Regions from separate parts of the Homo sapiens genome. Here region 1 is linked to region 2. The links are contacts of gene promoters, found by promoter capture Hi-C in human tissues and cell types (Jung and others, 2019). All regions are on one chromosome and are shown on one strand. Each heading gives the region's core, a stretch centred on a gene start or on the middle of the fragment in contact. The rest is flanking DNA. Distances are from core to core; before and after follow the strand shown. Region 1 overlaps LOC124904625 (a long non-coding RNA gene). Region 2 holds the start of RANBP3 (RAN binding protein 3).

The links. The method cuts DNA at HindIII sites, captures the fragments that hold promoters and counts their contacts. A contact is called where the count stands out against the background at its distance.
Region 1: a contact is called between a fragment that was not itself captured here and the fragment with the promoter of RANBP3 in region 2, in 1 of the 25 tissues and cell types used here (dorsolateral prefrontal cortex).

What each region holds. Positions count from the first base shown.
Region 1 is chr19:7,093,801-7,097,610 of GRCh38, reverse strand. The region is part of intron 1 of LOC124904625 (a long non-coding RNA gene); the gene reads left to right. Among named protein-coding and RNA genes, the nearest start is that of ZNF557, 26 kb to the right of the region's middle. The HindIII fragment of the contact is 4,002 bases long and covers 102-3,810 here.
Region 2 is chr19:5,976,617-5,980,322 of GRCh38, reverse strand. RANBP3 (RAN binding protein 3) reads left to right here and starts at 2,183. Exons shown (of 17, transcript NM_007322.3): 1 at 2,183-2,262. The coding sequence starts at 2,241. It overlaps RANBP3-DT (RANBP3 divergent transcript), which reads right to left and starts at 1,920. Exons shown (of 4, transcript NR_046376.1): 1 at 1,809-1,920. RefSeq lists silencers at 1,790-1,839, 1,890-2,059, 2,290-2,399. The HindIII fragment of the contact is 11,015 bases long and covers 1-3,706 here.

The DNA.
Region 1 (3,810 bases), core at 853-3,352, 1.1 Mb before region 2:
CTATATTGTGAGGGTAGAGATACTCATATTGCAAGGGGAGGCTGCAGGAGTTGCCTGCTGGGGCTAAGATTATTCCTTGTGTTTGGGATAAAGGAGGGGTCACCGCAGGGGCAGTCAACTCATGTTGGGGGAGACGGGATTTGCATTCTGGGCTCCCCTCCTCGTTTATGTTAAGGGTGTTGCTTGCTGATGCTTCTATTAACTCTTACTTTGGGATAATGGGAAGAGAGATAGTTTTCTGGGGTATGAGTTTGTCACTTATGTTGTAGAATCTGGGGGGCTGCCTGTTGAGATTCTGACCATTGCTTGTTTTGGGTGTCATTGCTGGGGATACTTATTTATAGTCTTGGGAAGACAAGGGATGCATGTTGCAGCGGTAGTGGGTAAGAATGGTGGCATTTGCTGGAGTTCTTTTTTTTTTTTTTTTTTTTTTTGAGACAGAATCTTGCTCTGTCTCCCAGGCTTGAGCGCAGTGGTGTGATCTTGGCTCACTGCAAACTCTGCCTCCCGGGTTCAAGAGATTCTCCTGCCTCAGTCTCCTGAGTAGCTAGGACTACAGGCACGTGTCACCACGCCCGGCTAATTTTTGTATTTTTAGTAGAGACGGTTTCACCATATTGGTCAGGCTGGTCTCGAACTCCTGATCTCGTGATCCACCCGCCTTGGCCTCCCAAAGTGCTGGGATTACAGGCGTGAGCCACCATACCCAGCCTGGAGTTCCTTTCTTGAGTGTGTAGAGGATTGAGGGTTGATTGGTTTTTGGAGTTTCCATCATTAATGTAGGAGCGATACGGGGAATCACTTGGCGAAGCTTTCATTGTCTCTGATGTTGGAGGTAACTGGAGGGCCAGTGCCTGGGGCTTCCATTTTTTTCTAGTGTTGAAGGGTCAAGAGCATTTATCAGATAGAGGCCTTACTGTGTATTGTTTGGGGAGAGGATGGAGGGATTATTGGATGGGGTTCCACTTATCTCTAGTTGGGGAGGGTCATATTCTGGGTCTCCGCTTGCCTGTACTGTTGGTATAGACTGGGTAGGCCATTGGGCTTGGAGTCCCCATTCTTTAGTGTTGAGGGGCATCTGAAGGGGTCATTTCAGGGACTTCTGTTATAGTTTTGGACGTGACTGAGGGGTGCTTGCTGGAGTAGTTTCGCGATGACGGAGGTCTTCATGTTTGGACTCCATCTTTTGTGTTTGTAAGTGATTGAGGGGTGGAGATCTGGCATCCTGTTGCCTCTTGTTTTGAGGGTGACTGGTGGTTACCTGCTAGGGCTTCTGTCAGCTCTACTGCTGTATGCAGATTGTGAGAATCACTTGCTGGGGCTTCCATAATCTCTAGTCTTAGGGGGACTGGGAAATGGCTTGCCATGCTTTCTATTATCTCTAGTTTTAAGGGACCAGTTCAATGTGATTTAAAACTCTTTTTATTTGAAAAAAAAAAAAAATTAGGGCTGGGCACGTTGGCTCACGCCTATAATCCTAACACTTTTGGGAGGCCAAGGCAGATGGATCACTTGAGGTCAGGAGTTTGAGACCAGCCTGGTCACCATGGCGAAACCCCATCTCTACTAAAAATACAAAAATTAGCTGGGCGTGGTGGTGCACACCTGTAGTTGCAGCTACTTGGAGGCTGAGGCAAGAGAATTGCTTGAACCCAGGAGGCGGAAGTTGCAGTGAGGTGAGTGTGGGCAACAGAGTGAGACTCCGTCTGAAAAAAAAAAAAAGATTTAGACGTATAAAAGTGTTAAAACTATACAGGCTTGATTTATACAGTCAATATTTATTTGTATTTGCTCACATTTTATCTTTCCTGATTATCCTTATATATTTCTGGAATTGCTTCCACATGGAATAATTTTCCTCCAGCCCCAAAACTTTCCTTCTTTCTTTCCTTCTCCTTCCTTCCTTCCTTCCTTCCCTCCCTCCCTCCTTCCTTCTTTTTTTTTTTTGAGACAGAGTCTCGCTCCATCGCCCAGGCTGGAAAGCAACGGTGCGATCTCAGCTCACTGCAACCTCCACCTCCTGGGTTCAAGCAATTCTCCTGCCTCAGCCTCCCAAGTAGCTGGGATTATAGGCGACCGCCACTACGCCCAGCTAATTTTTTTTTTTTTTTGTAGTTTTAGCAGAGATGGGGTTTTGCCATGTTGGCCAGCCTTGTCTCGAACTCCTGACCTCAGGTGATCCACCTGCCTCAGCCTCCCAAAATGCTGGGATTACAGGTGTGAGCCACCGTGTCTGGCCCAAAACTTTCTTTAGTGTTTCTTGAAGTGCAGTTCTGCTGGTGATGAACTATGTTGTTGCTGAAACACCAGGGGTTCAATCTAGGTCCTGCTGCTCACCACTGCACAGAAAGCCTATCGCTGAGACAATGAGTATTGCCAAGGAAGAAGGCTTTAATCAGCTGCTGCAGCTGAGGAGGTGGGAGAACAATCTCAAATCCATCTCCCTGACCAACTAAAATTTGAGGTTTATATAGCAGGGAAGAAATGTTACCATGTGTGGGAATACAGGAATTAGGGAAGGGTAAGGAAGAGGAGTTGGTCAACAGGAAGCAGGTGGTCAGTTAGGCAATCATGATGGGTGATGGGTCTGATGTCTCACTGTACAAATGCAGTATTCTGGTGCGTTTCAGCTCCTAGATACTATCTGGGAGGCCTGATGGTTGGTTTCCTGAGAAAGGAACTCAGATAAGATAAATGTAACTTTCTTAAGTTTTAAGATTGGGAAGATCAATTTGTTTGTTTATTCAAGGAAACCATAAACATCAGCAATATGGGAAAATTGGGCCAGTTTCACTTTCAGGTATTTAAAAGAAAAATCTATTGGATTTTGGATATCAATTCTTGTCCTTCACTTGGCGCTAAGTTCATGTCCCTACATAAGATACAAAGGGGGCCGGGCGCGGTGGCTCCCGCCTGTAATCCTAGCACTTTGGGAGGCCGAGGTGGGCGGATCACAAGGTCAAGAATTCAAGACCAGCCTGGCCAACATAGTGAAACCCCATCTCTACTAAAAATACAAAAATTAGCCGGGTGTGCTGGCGTGTGCCTGTAGTCCCAGCTACTCGGGAGGCTGAAGCAGGAGAGTCGCTTGAATCCAGGAGGCGGAGGTTGTAGTGAGCAGAGATGGCACCATTGCACTCCAGCCTGTGTGACAGAGTGAGACTCCATCTCAAAAAAAAAAAAAAAAAAAAAGAGATACAAAGGAAGCTACTGTTGGGATAATGTCATTTGGTCGTATTCCCATCAGAAACCTTAAGCTTTGGCCACAACCAGGACTCTTCATATAAAATGGTGATGGTGGTGGTGGGGAACCAGGGAAAAAGCGGAAAAAATTAAAGATTTTTTAAAAAACCCAAACCCAAAGCATAGCTGTCTTCTATTCCTGCTTTGGGACCTGGTCTTCAGGACTGAATTTAATTCTTCCACATCCATTCCACATTCTGCTTTCTCTCTGCCAGTCCCTTATCTGAATGGATTTTTATTTTTATTTTTTTTTGGGATGGAGTCTCACTCTGTCGCCCAGGCTGGAGTGCAGCGGCGCGATCTCGGCTCACTGAAAGCTCTGCCTCCCGGGTTCACGCCATTCTCCTGCCTCAGCCTCCTGAGTAGCTGGGACTACAGGCGCCCGCCACCACGCCCGGCTAATTTTTTGTATTTTTAGTACAGACAGGGTTTCACTGTGTTAGCCAGGATGGTCTCGATCTCCTGAGACCGGCCCTGAATGGATTCTTTACCCTGATAGAGTGATCTTATCTCGGATCAGGTTTTCTGGGAACAGATTTTGTGCTGGCAATTTTTTGTTTATTGGAT
Region 2 (3,706 bases), core at 934-3,433:
CATTTTCACATCAATAGATATTCTTCTTTTGGTATTTTTTTTCCCAACCAGCTAAAAATGTAAAAAAATCGGCAGGCGCGGTGGCTCATGCCTGTAATCCCAGCACTTTGGGAAGCCAAGGTGGGCAGAGCACCTGAGGTCAGAAGTTCGAGAGCAGCCTGGCCAACATGGTGAAACCCTGTCTCCACAAAAAAACACAAAAACTAGCTGGGTATAGTAGTACACAGCTGTAATGCCAGCTACTCAGAAGGCTGAGGCAGGAGAATCACTTCAACCCGGGAGGCGGAGGTTGTAGTGAGTCGAAATTGTACCACTGCACTCCAGCGTGGGCAACAGAGTTAGATTCCAAAATAAATAAAAGAAAGGGAAGGGAAGGAAAGGGAGGGAGGGAACAAGGGGAGGGAGGGAGGAACCATTTTTAGCTCATAGACTATATCTGGCCCACAGATTGTAGTACTCCTCGCTCTCTTTTAGATCATACTCAAAAAGGTGCAGAGCTGGGACTCCAACCTAGGTAAGACCTGAAACACAAGGTCCCAGGCAGAGAGACGACCAAGTGCAAAGACCCTTAGGTTGGAATGAGCTTGTGCTCCAAGGATGGAAAGACCCACGCGGCTGAACAGCAATGAGCAAGGGGGAACAAAGCAGGGCATGGGAGCCAAGTTCAGGGGACTTCATAAACCTGAATACAAGGTTTAGGATATTCCAAGTTCAGCTGAGAGCCCTCTGGAAGCACTGAGTGGCCTTGATATTTCCATTTTCAGTCTATGTGTATATATATATATATACACACACACACATATATATGCACACGTGTATGTATATATCTGTGTGTATATATATAGATAAAAACAAAGTATATATGTGTATATATATGGGGGAGGTTCTTGCTGTGTCCCTAGGATGGTGGCAGTGGCACTGTCACAGCTCACTGCAGCCTCAACCTCCTGGGCTCAAGTGATCCTCCTGCCTCAGCCTCCCAAGTAGCTGGGACCACAGGCTTGCACCACCACATCCGGGTAATTTTTGTGTTTTTGTAGAGATGGGGTCTTGCTCTGTTGCCTAGGCTGGTTTTGAACTGAGCTCAAGCGATCCTCCCACCTTGGCCTCCCGCAGTGCTGGGATTCCAGGGGTGAGCTACCGCGTCTGGCTGATTATATTTTTCAAAGACTCCTCAGCCTGCGGCCATGTGCAGAACCAAGCCTGGGGCTTCAAAAGAATGCAGCAAAGGATAGCAGAGAGGCCGCTGTCCAAGTCTTCCATGAGATAGATACGGACGATGTGGCCTAGGGTGGTGACAGCCTGGGGGTGACAATGGGTGGCTCTGGGCTGTATTTTGGAGGCAAGGCCAAGTCCGAAGGATTTGCTGAGAGATTCATAGCAGGTGAGTAGAGAACAACTCCAGGGTGTCCAGGACCCTCCCATGAGCCTTGTGAGTGAGGCTGATGGTCCCATTTTACAGATGGGTAACCTGGAGGCGCGCGGTTCCCCTCCCATGAGCTTGTGAAGTTGATTCTCGTAGCTCCGAGGGGTCGAGTCCCTCGCGCCGGCTCCCCCCGCCCCCAACGCCAGCACCTGGGTCCCAGGGCTGCGCCCCCTCCTAGAGCCTGACCACGACCCCCGCCCCCGCCGATGAGCTCTGATTTACCCCCCAATCCCAAGCACCCCGCGCCCTCTCGCCACTTCCCCCGTGGTTTCAGGAAAGCGTTTGCCGAAGGTACCGGCTCCTAAGGCGGGTAAACTGAGGTAGGAGGCAACGCGTCTCCCGCCCGCGCGTGTGGGAAGCCCCCGCAGGCCCGGCGATTTACCTGGAGGAAGGCCTCGGCTGCGGCGCCCTGAACTGCTCACTGTCCCACCGCGGGGGAACCCCGGAAAACGAGTGGGAAAACGAGTGCTTCAAGACCCGCCTCGGGCCGCGCGGTGCCGCCTCACTAAACCTTAGTCGCTGCCACTGCGCATGCGCCCTTCCCGGCCCTTTCCCCGCCCTCTCAGTCGGCGGGAAAAGGAGGCGGGAGATGGCTCGTGCGCAGGTGCGTGCTAGGAGCGCGGCTCGTCAGGGCAGGCTGCTCTGCAGGGCAGGCGATCCGGGGCTCGCCTCCGCGCGGCATTCAGCGCGCAGGCGCGAGCTGGCCGCCTCACACGGAGTCGGCTTGTTAAGTGCGCACGCGCGGGAGTTTCTGGCAGAAAGCAGGCGAGCCTGGGCCGGCGCGGGGCCTTGTGGGAGGGCTTAAGGAAGTAAAATGGCGGACCTGGCGAACGAAGGTAGGGGAGGCGCCGTTGGGGACCGGCTGGCGGCCGGGGAACGGGCGGCGGGAGGACTAGGGGCCACAAGCCCTTGGGGGGAGCACCGCAGAGTGCAAGGGTTTCGTCCGCTCCAGGCTAGCGCCGTGGCGGGCCTTGCAGCCGCCCCCTATTGCGTCCCCTCAGGCCGGGCTCACCGGCCCGGCCCATCACTCCCGGCAACCCCAGCCACTGCAGCCGTCTGGCTAGAGGAGCCGGGTGGCCATCGGGATCGCAGCCCTAAGGCCCCTCTGCGTCGCAGCCAAGCTCGGGGCTGAAGGGGGCGGGAGGCGCGGCCCCAGTGCTTCGGCCACGGATGTAAATAGACCTTAGGGCCTGGTTGTGGCCCGGAGCGCGCCACGCTCCCTCCCCGCCCCCTCGTCCTCCGCCACCCGGCATCTCCCCTTCCCCGGCCTGGCTGCCTATCTCCTAAGCCCGTGAGGCCCTCGTCCTCCGCGGGCCAGCCGCACACCGCGGACGGAGGAAGCCCAGGCCGTTTTCACCCCGTCCCCGCCCCGAACTTCGGCCCCCACTTCCCGCCAGTTCCCCCCGGATCCTTCGGGGCGCTTCGTCTCCCCCTCATTTAGGCCCCGCCGCAGGATCTGGGCCGCCGAAAACCCTGGCTGCTCTTTGGCCCTTTTTGCTGCACTTCCAGACAAGAGACCGTGCGAGTCCCTCCTCTGTGGAGCGCTGACAGCCCACCTGAGTGTTTTTGACAAGGTTACACTTCCAGATCCCCCGAGAAGGCACCATAAGGCTGATGTCTGCTTCCATCCATAGTCGTGTTGCCATCGCTGTAGCTTCAAGACTTCTGAGGCCTATTTTTAGCTCCCCCCCTTTTCTAGTTGCACAAATGCAGGCAAGCTCTCTACCTGTCTGGCTCTGATTCCCCCATTCGGTGCTCCCTGTGACTGGAGGGTTTTCCCTACCGAATTGCAGTAATGAATGAATGATGATAGGAAGTGCTTGGTCTTGTGGAGCATTTAGGGTAGTTACCAGGTGTGGTGCAAAGTCTTGACATACTGTTTTCCCTGGTAGGAGGTATAGATACTGTTAGCCCCATTCACTTGATGAGGAGACTGAGTCAACGTGGTTAAGTCGCTTATCCAAGGCGTGTCACACAGCTGGGAAGGAGCAGGGATGTGAACCAAGATGGCCTGGCTTCAGATGCCAGACCACGGGTGCTCAGTCCCTGCAGATTCTGATTCTGTGTGGTGTTGGGCGGGCGCTGGGCATCTGTACAGGCAGCAGCACAGGTTCTCTCCCTGATTCTTGGCCATTTTATTCTATTTTATTTTTTGGGACGGAGTCTAGCTCTGTAGCCAGGCTGGAGTGCAGTGGCGCCATCTCGGCTCACTGCAATCTCCGCCTCCCGGGTTCAGGTGATTCTCCTGCCTCAGCCTCCCGAGTAGCTGGGATTACAGGC